2 separate regions of the Homo sapiens genome follow, and region 1 is linked to region 2. Evidence: promoter capture Hi-C in human tissues and cell types (Jung and others, 2019). All regions are on one chromosome and are shown on one strand. The core of a region is centred on a gene start or on the middle of the fragment in contact, and the rest is flanking DNA. Distances in the headings are between cores, read along the strand shown. Region 1 overlaps OBI1-AS1 (OBI1 antisense RNA 1). Region 2 holds the start of EDNRB (endothelin receptor type B).

What was found. The method cuts DNA at HindIII sites, captures the fragments that hold promoters and counts their contacts. A contact is called where the count stands out against the background at its distance.
Region 1: a fragment that was not itself captured here is called in contact with the fragment with the promoter of EDNRB in region 2 in 2 of the 25 tissues and cell types used here (H1 embryonic stem cells and bladder).

What each region holds. Positions count from the first base shown.
Region 1 is chr13:78,185,609-78,192,630 of GRCh38, reverse strand. OBI1-AS1 (OBI1 antisense RNA 1) reads right to left here. Exons shown (of 6, transcript NR_047001.1): 2 at 2,935-3,023. Among named protein-coding and RNA genes, the nearest start is that of OBI1-AS1, 130 kb to the right of the region's middle. The HindIII fragment of the contact is 4,851 bases long and covers 306-5,156 here.
Region 2 is chr13:77,914,511-77,920,923 of GRCh38, reverse strand. It overlaps EDNRB (endothelin receptor type B), which reads left to right and starts at 2,093. Exons shown (of 7, transcript NM_001122659.3): 1 at 2,093-2,833. The coding sequence starts at 2,351. RefSeq lists a cis regulatory region at 1,727-1,736 and promoters at 1,988-2,102, 1,092-2,164. The HindIII fragment of the contact is 11,006 bases long and covers 1-5,744 here.

The sequences.
Region 1 (7,022 bases), core at 1,482-3,981, 270 kb before region 2:
CAACACCATTGTAGGTATATACATTGAATATTCTGCTTCTTCCTCAAATTGCTGACCTAACATCATGTATCATAATAACTATATACTAAGAAAGAACAATATCTACATTTTTAATCAACTGTTATAGGGTCTGAGGTGATACCAAGGGACCTGGAATGCCACTGTGATCTTCTGGTGAGAAAAGGGGCTTATAGAGGATAAATTTTAAAGTTTTGATTTAAGCTAACAATGGGCACAACAAGTCCTGAAACTCATCCTTTGGTTAATTCCTGAATTCCTAAGTATACAATTTTGATACATAGACTTAAAAACTGGAAAGGACTGCCCTGACCGGTGGAATAAGGGCCCTATGATTTAAAAAAAATAAAAAGGCAACTGAAAGACATGAAAGTTTCTGCTCCTAGTCAAAATAGATAATCAGAAGAAAAACTGAATCCTGCGAGGAAATACAGAGAAGCATTTCCTTAATAGGCTTAAAAGATTTGAGTAGTGGTCCTTTATGATATTGTCATTCATCTAGCCACCACACAAAACGGATGTATTGTGATGGATGAAAATGGACTATCATAAATTTAAAAGTAAAGCAGCTGTGGTACTAGATCAACACAGCCAATGACACTTGGTTTGCAGATGTTAATCTGGCAAATGCATTTTTTTAACCCCATCAATAGGGAGACAAAGAAGTTCACTTTTACATAGAAAAGATGATAGTACATATTTACTCTCTTGCTCCAGACCTACTGTTCAGCTTTCTGTCAAAATATAGTTTTCAGGAACATTAGATATCTTGAATTCCTCAGAACGTCGTATAGATCCACTATACTAGTGGCAGAATGCTATTTGAACATGGTGAGTAGAAAGTGGTAAGTATCTTAAGGTCCTAATATGACACATGCTTGGCAGAAGTTGAAGATAAACTTGACAAAGATTCAGGGCCCTGTCACACAAGTTGAAGTTTTGGTGGCTCAGTGGTCTTAGATATGTAAAGACATCATCTCTGTAATATTGTGAAATATATATTTGGTCTTCATCCCCATTTCCTGGCACACAGTTCCTAAAACCCTTAGAATCTCCAGTGATGAGTGTCTTTGTATGCTAATGAGGTGGCTGGTAGCTGAGGGCTCCTAGGAAACATCACAGTAGGGGATGGCCACCAGAAAACCCAAGGCATTTAGCCCCACCTGCCAATCTCTGGAAGGGAGAGAGAGGGCTGAAGGCTGAGAGATCACCAATAGACAACGATATAGTCAGTCATGCCTACGTAATGAAGCTTTCATAAAAACTGAAAACGGCAGAGTTCAGGAGAATTCAGATAGTTAAACACGTGGAGGGTCTTGCAGAGTGGTGCAGTGGAGGGGGCATGGAAGCTCCATACCCCTTCTCATATGCCATGCTTTATGCTTCTCTTACAACTGGCTGGATACTCATCTGAGTCCTTTGTAATATACTTTATAATAAGTGGGTGCAAGTGTAAGTAAAGTGTTTCCCTGAGTTCTATGAGCTGATCTAGCAAATTATTCAAACCTGAGGAGGGAGTCATAAGAGCCTGCATTTTGTAGCTGGTCTGTCAGAAGTACAGGTCACAACATGGGACTTGCAGTTGGTATCTGATGTGGGGAGGTGTGAGTCTTGTGGAACTGAATCCTCAATCTGTGAGATCTAACACTATGTACAGGAAAATAGTGTCAGAATTGAATTACAGCACACCCAGCTGGTGTCTGCTGAAGAAGTACTTTGTGTATGGGGAAATAATCCTCACACATCTGGTGTCAGAAGTGTGGTGTTGAGTGGTTTGTGAGAGTAGGAGAAACACTTTTTTTCCTATCCCTAATAGTCTCTAATATAAATCTCCTTCTGATAAGGAAAAGTAGAACATTTGTTGAATTCTTTGGAGTTTGTAGGTAGCAAAGAATACCTTTGTTAATGCAAATCCAATTGATTTATTCAGAAGACAGCCAGCAAGAGAGGTTTCTGCAGTAAGTCAGACTATGACCTAAGGTTCCACACAAACATACTCTATGACCCTGAAGTTTTGATGGCAGTAGAGATGCTTCTGATAGGTAAAAATGCTGTGTGGAGTAACTGATAACCCTCAGTAGGAGGGTAACAATGCAAATACCTCAGTTTCTGGAGCAAGACTATACCTTCTGAGTCACAGAAATTCTCACTGTTTGAGAAACAGCTCCTGGTACACTATTGAGTACTTGATCCTGACACACCAAGGAAATATAAAGCCCTGATACGCAACGAGGTGAAATCCTGACAAATGGAAATTGAAAAGTGGCAGATAAAATTCCTATTCCCTTCTCTTCTGAACAGGCTATCTTTAGATTCAGTTTTTCTTGTTATTTCTCAGAAGACCATCTTGCAAGACGAAGTGACCAGTTGTACTGGATAGCTCAGTAGCATCCTCACTTCAGTCTTCCTTCTGCCCTGTGTTGCTTCCTTTTTCCCTCACACCTAATTTTCTGTGATAACATTTTCAGGAAATTTGTAGCCCACAAACATCGCCTCAGTTTCTGCTTTCTGGAAAGACCAAGAAAGGGTCTCCTACTTAAGACCCTTCAGTGGTTAAGCCTGTTGTTTCAGCTCTGTCTTTCTAATCACCTCTCTCAACACTTCTTGCCTTGCAGTTTATACTCTAATTATATCAAATTGCTTTTGCTTCCCTATAGAAATCAGGCTGTTTCATACCTTTAGACCTTGACTTATGCTCTTTACTTGGTCAAGAATGCCATCTTTCATTCCCCTTTAATTATCATGTAGTAATCAACTCAGAGGTCACTGCCTTCTGCATTTCTTTCTCAGGGTAAGAGGTGTGAGATGTAATGATCTGTCATTTGTCTTATAGGAGATTGTCTGACACACCCTATGCCACTGATACACTGAAAACATCGCCAGTGTAACAGGACCCTGAATCTTCATGATACTTACCTCCTATGCTTCGATAGGCCTGTGTCATGCAAGGGCTCCAGGATAAACTGGACGGCCATTAGGAGACAATATGTGGTAGGGTGGATCACCTATGAGAAAATGTGAAGGACATTTTGAAGCTATTTGTTAAGTGTCTGGACCCTTGAATTTAGACTGTTGACTGAAATAAGGAAAATCCGGGCTGTGCCCCCACCCCACCCCACACACAATTTGGACAAGAAGAAAAAGAACTCACTTGAGAGGGGTAAGATTTAAGAATATGTGCTCTACTTTTAGATGAAGAAAGGAGAAATCCTGCAAGTGCAGATTTCTGATCCAAACTTTGAAAACTTGGAGAATGTTATGCAATAAAGAAATCAAGGTAACATTTTACAAACCAAATGAAGGCTGTTAATTACAGCTTAGGCTATTTAGATTTGGTTCAACAGTCATCACATTTACAGTAAACTTCACCTTTCACTTGTGGTAGAACAAATTGATTCTCCCTTTAGTTCAAATATGTTTGAGTGCTTTATCTTTGCTATGTGCTATGCAAGGAACTTAGAGTACAGAGAAGAATCACACAGGCTCTTTGCTATCAGGGAGCTTCTAGTCTAATCTGAGGCATTGCCCAGTCCCACTGATCATGGTTGGAGAGCTATGAGAGAGGTATGCCAGGGCACTGTGGGAGACTAGGAACAAGGCTGTCCAGTGTGCACGAGCAGAGGAGGCTCCCTTATGACCCTTGCACCCTAAAGTACGGCAAGACAGAAACATTATGAATGAGGATAAAGACCCTGTCTGTAGCAAGTAGGATCCATAACAATGAATACTGGGTATGTATGTGAGTATTCTACTGCAGAGAACTGCAAGATTTTGAGGAAAAGTGGGCCCATTTAATATCATTGTTAGCGGTCTTTTTCTCTCATAACATTTGTTCTCTATCATGCTCTTTTCTAACTCAGTAAAAGACTTCTGGGTATGTTGAAGTTGTTAATAATTCCTATTTAGTTTTGTTTTCCATAAACTTGGTCAATTTTTTCTAGCATAAAAAAAAGTTCTTTCCAGCTGTGATTTTAAAGAAATAGCCTCTTCCATTTGTGTCTTATGAGTAAGCCAACATTTCAAATTTAGCAGTTGAGCTAAAACTTCTACACTTTTTTCTCCTTCAGAAAACATCTTCCTCCTTTCTCACTGGTAACTCTGTTTGTTTAAAGTCCTAACTATGGATTCTCATGTGCTATCCTATGTAGCAAGCAGGAGGGGGAAATCTCCGCCTACCTGGATTCATGCCATTTTAGTCCTTTCCTCCCAGACTGAACAGACAATTATTAAGACTTTAGACTTCTTTGAATTCTGCTTGATGTTGACTGAGGTTGTTTATTTCACAGTTCTGGAGGTTCACACATCTAAAATTGAACAGTTCATATAGTTGGAGAATGGTACGTGACTGTAGTCTGAGCATGAAGTACATTTGGATGGCGTATATGTCAACTGAATGCAGGTAGCAATAAGCATGTGTGTTCTGAAGACAAATGAGCAAATTTGCCTCCTTACTTCCTGTGGAACATAGAGCCTCCTTTGTCTTGCGTTGTCTTTCAGCAAACAAAGAAGCAACTTGGCCACATAGCGCTCACGTTTTATTTATTTATTTCCCCCCTGTAGTGTTTTCAGTCCAAGCTGCCCTACATGAAGGAATCATGTCTATGTATTAGCAAGGCCAGACTATTGCATGGGAAGTTCTCTTTTGACCCCTGCAACAGATTAACTGTTGGCCATAAGGAAGTCTCTTAACCTCATGGCATTTCCCTTTATGCTCTCCAAGTGGAGGATAATAACGCTGGAAAAGAAAAGTGACTTGATATTCACAAATAGGAAGCATCCTTTCAATGTTTTTGTACATATGGGTTTCTTGTTACAATAATAGTACTATTTTAATGAGCCTAAAATAATCCAAGAGGGTTCTAGAACACTGCTGTGTGGCTAATAAACCAATTTTTCAGTGTGTCATTATTTTGTAAAAAAATATTGAAGTAAAAAATATTTTACTTCACCTGTTCATTATCCATGGGAATATTTTGATTGTCATGCAGGAATTGGTAGATAACTAAAAAAGCACACACATACTAGCTTAGTAGTTTAAAGGCCTCTTACTAGGTATGAGCTGAGAGGAGTATAACGAAAAACAAAATAAAACAAAAAATACATACAAATAAAGCTTTTACCATTCATTTTGGTGCAAATAGAATTCATTTTATAAAAGAAAAGCTTACAAAGACTAGACCTCTGGAACTTCAAATTTTATTTGTGTTTCATTATAATCTCACCTCTTCAAGAAAAAAAATGCAATATCTACTAAATCATTAGCACAATATAAAGCCCCTTTTATTAAATATAAATCAGAGAGAAAATATCTAATATAACCTTCTTATATTGACACTAGTTACATTTTTTTAAAATGCAGATACTCAAATATTATTGAGAAAACCTAAATCATTGAATATGTTCATAAAGTAAAACAAAAACTGTAGTGCAGTAAAAGAAAATGAAAGAACCACTCCTCTTTCCCACTAACCTAGCCATATTGAAGCTATTTCAGTCAGCCAACAGCATTGATTCAATATCCACTAGTACAGAGCACTGCATATGTTCTTTGAGTTCAATCAAATAGAACATATAACTCCTGCCTTTAAAGACCTTTCTTTCTAATAAGTCTCCATTAACACAGAAGCATTGAAACACATTCAGAATCCACAGATTGCACTAAGATTTACACAATCAATGGACAGGGAAGTTTAAAGAATGGGCAGCAGAGGAGAGTCCAGAATGCAGTCAGGAGTGCTAGTTTTGATCTCATCAAAGTATCACACCCCATCAACTTTTCTGGCTTCATACCATATAATAGTACAACCTCTGTGGATAACCAGAGGTTATCAAGGACAGCTGTGAGCATAAACAGCAGCAATGAGGACCATCAGATAGTCATATGGATGTGTTTATTGTTCCTGCCCTTGGGAGGCCCAGAGGAGCTGCCTATTTGTCCTCTATGTCTAGAAGATCAAGAACCAGAGGGAACAGAGACACTTCCTTGGGGTGCTTTGACAGAAGGCAGGAGACAGTTGGCCTATTTCTACACTCCCAGTCTGGGGAAAGGGGAGGCACTGTGGGTCTGTGATGACTTCCTGCCTTAGTGATTGTCCTCTCTTGGAAACTCTAACACAAAGACCCAAGTTCCAGTAAGCAAAGAAAGAAAACTAACAATCCATTCAAGGAAAATACATCAGAACAACAGAACTCGTGCCGGGCCAATAGAGCAGTTAGAGTAAAGACTTGACAACTTGAGTAAGGAATTAATAAGAACCCTTCAAGAAATTCAAGTACAGCACTTGGGAGACTGTGGAAATAAGTAATTTAATACATGAATCAAAGGAGATATGTAGAAGTGACCCAGACGATCAAGGGAGTCAACTATGTCCCAACATAGAGGGCAAGAACATGAAGAAATGAGAATGAGGGGAAAGATAATACTTTCAGAAGTCTAAGAGACCAAACATGCAAGTAAGAGAATTTCTACAAGGCAATGTAAGAACTGGGACAAAAGAGGAATGATTAAAGACATGATAGAGAAAATGTTCTATAAATTACATAACAAATCCCTGTAGTCTCTTGGTAGATTGAGAAGAAAAGATACACATGTAGGAAAAAAAAATTTAGAAAATATTTCTGAACTCTAAGGAGAAAGGGATAATCTTAAAACTTTCAAGTGAAACAAGTTACAATGAAAAAGAAACTGAAAGACATTGAGCTTCATCAGCAACACCCGAGAGGAGAAGACAGTGAAATGACACCATCACACTACAGAGGAATTTTATTGCAAGCCACCATATCAAAATTGATTATAAATTCACTTTAAATAATTATGATATTGGCAAAAAATAGACAAATGTTTGTAGAAGAGCCTAGCAATTTTAAAAATAAACCTACATTCATAGGACATTTTAATATCTGACAAAGGTAGAAGTTTAGTCTGCTGAGAATATTATGATGATGCAACTGGCTCCTGGTTTAAAAAGAATATAAAATTGTATGCTAAAATAACATAAAATTGT
Region 2 (6,413 bases), core at 844-3,343:
GGAGCCATAGGCATGAACCCAACAAAGCTTGTATAGGAAGGGCAGATCCAACACTGGGTGGAGTCAACTAAGCAAAATATTCATATTCCAAAGCTTCCATATAATTCCTTATTCAGACAACATTGTATATTGTTACTTGGCTCAGCAATTGAATGTTGACCTCGTTCTTACGAGACAGGGAGGATAAGGACTGCAATTCAAAATAGCCAGATTTGGAATTAGCACTCACAACCCTAGACCATATTTCTCATTCCTTTAGCCTTACTCCGTAACCATGTTCCTAACCACATTTCACACTTAAAGTTCACCTTTTTAAATAGAAATTGATTTTCTACTTCCACTGTCCCAGAAAGCATTGCCTAAGAGCCAAAAATCCAAGGTTCTTGTCCCATCTATTCCATTAACTAACATGAAGCAAAAAACGAGCCTCCTGTCTCTGGGTGAAACTGCTACATGGAATGGGTGCTTCTGGGTTTGAAGTTCCACAGATCCAGTAGGGATTTTGCTGATTGGAGGACGGCACAGTACTCTCCAGTGCATCTCCAAGCCTGACTTCCTGACCTCTTTTATACAATCTCTGGGCAAAACTACCAGTCGCTGTTATTTTCCTCTCTGCGGTAAACATGGAGCTCAAGAATGGATAGAAAGACCTTATTGTATTGCTCTACCTGGTAAATAAATATCATGTTGAATTTGCATGGCAGCTTTCTGATTATTTTCATGTCTCCGATAAGCATCAAGTCTGTCATAGGTACAGTATAAAAATGCCTGAGATTGCCTAACACCGATACTGTGGCAGGAAGAGAGGAGAAGAGCTGTACTGGGGAAAATGAGGAGTACTTGTAATCCTCTCTCGGGGCAGTGAGAGGGCCTGGGAAGAAAAGATCGAGCTGTTCCGTGTTGGGGTTAATGTTGGCTTGAAATGAAACTTCAGGGCAAAATGAAGCAGAGCAAAGAGCAGCGCCCACAAACCAACCTTAAATATCACAGCGGCGGAACATTTACCTGAAAGAAAAGTGACACTTGGCATTAAAAGTTCAATTATCACGTTCAGTGCAGAGCCTTGTTCTAGTCTGGAGCTGCCGGGTGTCACATGGTGCGTGATAACTTGCCCTTGATTTGGGTTCATTTGAAGAGCGTAGAACTCTAACAAATAAACAGCCTTTTGGGACCTGTCCCCGGACGAGGACTGCCCCCCTCCCTCGGGCAACTACTACTGATGCTGTCCAGGCATCGCCCAAGGGGAAAGGTTGCAGCGGGGTCGGAAGGCGCGGGAGGAGTCTGGCGGTGATTGATGGGAAGGGATGAATGAATAAAAGTACTTGTCTGATGGCAGCAGAGACCCCGAGCAAACGGTGGAGGCTACACTGTCTGGCATTCTCGCAGCGTTTCGTCAGAGCCGGACCCGCCTGCAGCTCAAGGGAGGCGTGCTCCTCTCCCAGAGCAGGCTGGAACCCAGCTGGGTTCCGCCTCCCGGGAAGGTGGTCTCCATTCGTCGCTCTGCATCTGGTTTGTCAGATCCGAGAGGTAAACATTCGGGCTTGGTGTTGAATTAAAATCATTGATTGAACCTTATTCTGGGGCTTCGGTTTGGCTTACTAGTTTGGGATTTTAAAAAAATAAAAATTAAGCCTATAGAGAGGGCAAATTAAAATTAGGTTGGGTAAAGGAAGGAGCGCGAGTGTTTGAAGCCGTTTGGAGGGAACAGCGGTTTCCAAGTTCCTGCTGACTTGAGAAGTCTCTGCGGGTTTCCGAATCTCCGGCGCACTCCTGGGCGCGCTGCGGGAGCTGTAGCTCAGCCAGCCAGGGAGTAGCGGCTTTCATCCGCCGGGAGGAGTCTTTCGAGTTCAATCGCGGGGTATAGAGGTTCCCCTGCGGGGCAAAATGCAGAGCTTGACACAAGCCCTTGGCCTCTAGGTGCCTTAATTCCGCGGTTCCCACGCACGCTTAACTAAGACGTGTCTGTATTCCTCCCGTTACGTGAAAGAGTTCGGAGCTTTGCCTGGGACCCCCATCATTCCCTCCCTGGCACACCCCTTCCAGAACGCCCCGCCCCACTGCATATTATTTACCCCTCCTGGCCACGCGGGGGAAGAAAAACAGCTGAGAGGGCATCAGGAAGGAGTTTCGACCCGCGCTGGCGAGTCATGAGCGCCAAGTTTCCCACTGGCGCGCAAACTTGAGTTACTTTTGAGCGTGGATACTGGCGAAGAGGCTGCGGGCGGTATTAGCGTTTGCAGCGACTTGGCTCGGGCAGCTGACCCAAGTGTCCTGTCTTCCTTCCTCTGCTTGTCTCTAGGCTCTGAAACTGCGGAGCGGCCACCGGACGCCTTCTGGAGCAGGTAGCAGCATGCAGCCGCCTCCAAGTCTGTGCGGACGCGCCCTGGTTGCGCTGGTTCTTGCCTGCGGCCTGTCGCGGATCTGGGGAGAGGAGAGAGGCTTCCCGCCTGACAGGGCCACTCCGCTTTTGCAAACCGCAGAGATAATGACGCCACCCACTAAGACCTTATGGCCCAAGGGTTCCAACGCCAGTCTGGCGCGGTCGTTGGCACCTGCGGAGGTGCCTAAAGGAGACAGGACGGCAGGATCTCCGCCACGCACCATCTCCCCTCCCCCGTGCCAAGGACCCATCGAGATCAAGGAGACTTTCAAATACATCAACACGGTTGTGTCCTGCCTTGTGTTCGTGCTGGGGATCATCGGGAACTCCACACTTCTGAGAATTATCTACAAGAACAAGTGCATGCGAAACGGTCCCAATATCTTGATCGCCAGCTTGGCTCTGGGAGACCTGCTGCACATCGTCATTGACATCCCTATCAATGTCTACAAGGTAAAGGGCGCCTGCTGAAATCATGGTGGGCTTGAGGAAGGGGGCCTGGTTGGAGACGGGGAGATGAGAAAGCTTGTAGAGGGAGCTTCCCTTTAGCTCCCTCTTAAGGTTCTGCCCCTCCTAAAAGTCAGTAATCTTTGGAACCAAATTCCATTTGGTTCTGTCCACTCATAAAAGTCAGTAACCATTGGAATAAAATTCCATTCAGGTCTTCAGTAGACCTCTGCTAAGCTTAGGACAAGCGTAGTCCCCAGTCTAGCAATGTTAGTATCACTTTGGGAACTTGGTGCACATGAAGATTTTTCTGGCCTCACCCCAGACCTACTGAATCAGAAACTCTGGAGTGGAGCACAGTAATTTGTATTTTAACAAGCCCTTTATGTGATTATGATGAACTGTAAAGTTTGAGAACCACTAGTCCTGAAGGATCTAGTCCCTAAGTGCACCTAATGGGGTACATCCTCTAGTCAAAAGTGTGTGGTCCATGGACAGTCAGCATCAATATTACCTGAGAGTTTGTTAGGAATGCAAGGCTACCTCAGACTTACTAAGTTAGAATCTGCATCTTAAGATCTTCATGTGATTGATATGCCCACTAACTTTGGGAAGGACTGTTTTGGAAGACTTTGAAAGTAGCAGGTACAAAGTAGGTATTTAGGAAATAAATGGCCTGGAAAAAAGAGATCCAGACTGGTGAGTAGGAAAAACACAGTTCACCTGCTGTGACGGACTGTAGCTACTTTGTATTAAATATCTACAGTGGGCCAAGGACTGGGTGAGATGTGTTACTTCCATTATTCCTTCCAGCAGCCCACAAGTAGATATTACAATTAGTTTACAGATGACTGGTAGGATGATCAAAGTAAATGAATTAGAGGTGGAGCTGGGGATCAGACCCAATCTGTCAGGTTCCAAAGTGCAAGCTATATGATGGCACCCCATCAATTATTTCATGGACAAGACCAAGGAGCACTCAAAATCTGTAAGGGTTTCGGTAGTTAACATTATTGTGTGATTACCATGGGCGTCAGTAGAAACACACAAAGAGCCAGGTTGCTCCAGGTTGCTTTGGAACTCCAGACACATCCCAGCACCTCTGGGCCTCAGTTTCCTCAATTCCACAATAAGGCTGCCAGTGCCCACTTACTGAGGCTTTATGGTGTTAAAAAAAAAAAAGCAGTCTAAATAAAACAGTTGGAAAATTTCAAAGACATATGAAAATATTTAAAACTTTCCCAGCAGCAGCAGCAGCAGCAGCAATAGAAAGTTGCACATAAAAACACAATCACAGTGTAAGGAAATGGAATTGTGCTTTGCAGATTTGCCTATAGCTAGCCCTGACTTCAGTACTTCAGTACAAGGGGAAAAAAATGGAATGTAAAGTTGGGAAATGTTGTAGGGAATGCTTTGACCTATTGGCAGGAGTAGTTACCATAAGGCATGCCTGTAAATTTCCCTTCATAAATCTCTAAAAATCCTAACCCAATAGCTATATTTTAAGGGGAATTCCGAACATTTCTGAGGTTTAGCGGTGAGAGTGGATTAGGATATAGTTTTCTCTAAAGGGAATCACCCCCGGAAATGGGGGAATCGATTGAAGAAATCCTAAAATCCTGTATGGCAATTGATTCTGATGAACTGTGAGGATTTACTTGGTAAGAGCTGAAATTGAATCTCTAAATGCAGCCACAACTCCATGAGGGCCAGAAGTGACCCTTTTACTTCTTAAGGCGTCCCACAAACTAAATCTTCCCATTCTAATTTGGCAAAGGAATTTCAATTCAATTCATCAAAACCGAATTGAGAACTTTTCAGTACAAGGTGTTGTGATAAATTTAAAATAAATCTAACAAGATCTCTTCCCAAAGGGAGATTAAAATCTAGTTTTGCTAGGTTGGCACAGGATTTTATGAAAGTTCTGTTTAGGGGGTCAGGAAACCCCACATGTCCAGCCCAGTTAGAAACCTTTCTAAATCAGACAGTAGCTGAAGTGCTGTGTAGAAGGTGGGATTGAGAACATTTTTTTAGTTCTGGTGTGCTGCCTCCAGGACAGATATAAATCAGCTCTTCCAGAACCATCTTATTTCCTCTGTCTGGTTAAATGAGTATTTGTAATAAACTAGAGAATTTCTGACTCCCCAAGAGGTCATACAGTTTCCCTTTCATTTCAAACTCCCATATGATTTCCCTAGGAAGTTACATCCTTTTCCCTGAAGCCATCCAGTCTTAACATGACTGTGTTTTTACTTCTGAAATAAGCCAATGAGTCATTATAAATCTGTCCATCCATTAATCTACATGGGTCACAAACACATTCATCACATTACGTCCCATCACTAAGGTCATCATTATTGAATCCTACCTTGTGGCCTTAGGTTTAGCTTGAGACACAATATCATAATAATGGCTACCAGTTAATGATGCACTAGGCACTTGGTTTATTTCATTAAGTCACTATAACAACCCTGTAGAGGAGGTATCGTTATCATTCCTGCTTTAGATCTAGGCAAACTACTTGTCAGAGAGGTGAAGAAGTAACTTGCCTAATGTCATACCACTACAAAGTAATGAAACTGGGGCTTGAAAGCAGATCATCCAGCCCAAGACCCTGTGGTCCACCCCATCCCACTGCACAAAGCATGCTCAGGCACTGCATGGTCATCTCCAACCTTGAGTATTGTTTTAGGATCTCATTTGGGAGCATTTGGTGGAATTATGGCAAATAATATGCTATCCCACAGTAGAATACTTGGTAAACATTTTCAGAAATTAATTTGAGTCAGGATTTCGGTCTCTTGAAACCCCCTTCAGCTGGTCTGTAGTGTGTAATATCAGTGGAAGTTATTCTAATGGCTTAATTTACCAAAATATCAAATCCAGGACCAGTTAAAAGCCATTTATTCTCCTAAATAATTGTGGCAACGTAGTTTTTTTAATGCATTTAGAATTTCAGAGTAGTCAGGTATGATCATTCAGAAAAAAGTAATTTAAATGAGTTATGAAGGCTATATTTAATATATCCTAATATGAGAGGCTTAAATCTAAACCAGTGATTTCTAATTTTTTTGGTGGGGTTTTATAATTCTCTTTGAGAATTCAATATACACAATTTCTGGGGGTTTGTGAAATTCTCCTACTCTCTTGTTGGCACACTAAGGGCCCAGAGGCCCAGAAATGTCAATGTGAATCTATTCCATTAATCTAGAGTTTAATGAATATAGAGTTCAGTAAAGTTGACAAATCACAAAATGTCATAGCTCTTATTGGAAGCTACAGTCTTCAGGCTGTGGAATTGGTGGGACTTTATCTGGAGTTGCTGCAGTGGGAAGCTGAAAAGCATTGGGAAACATGTCTGATCTGCCTGGACTTCCTCAAGGAGCTGGGTCCCTGGAAACTTTTAGGAAGAATCATACCACTCTCACAGGTCTCCTGTGTTGTGGGTGAAATCCTGTGTTGAAGGCTAGGGAAGTGTCTGAGGACACTTAGCAAGTTGAGGCTGCTGAAGAACTTTAAACTCATGTAAACATGCAGAAAATAATAAGCGTTGCTTACGCTTCTCATAGGCACACACTAGGGCTAT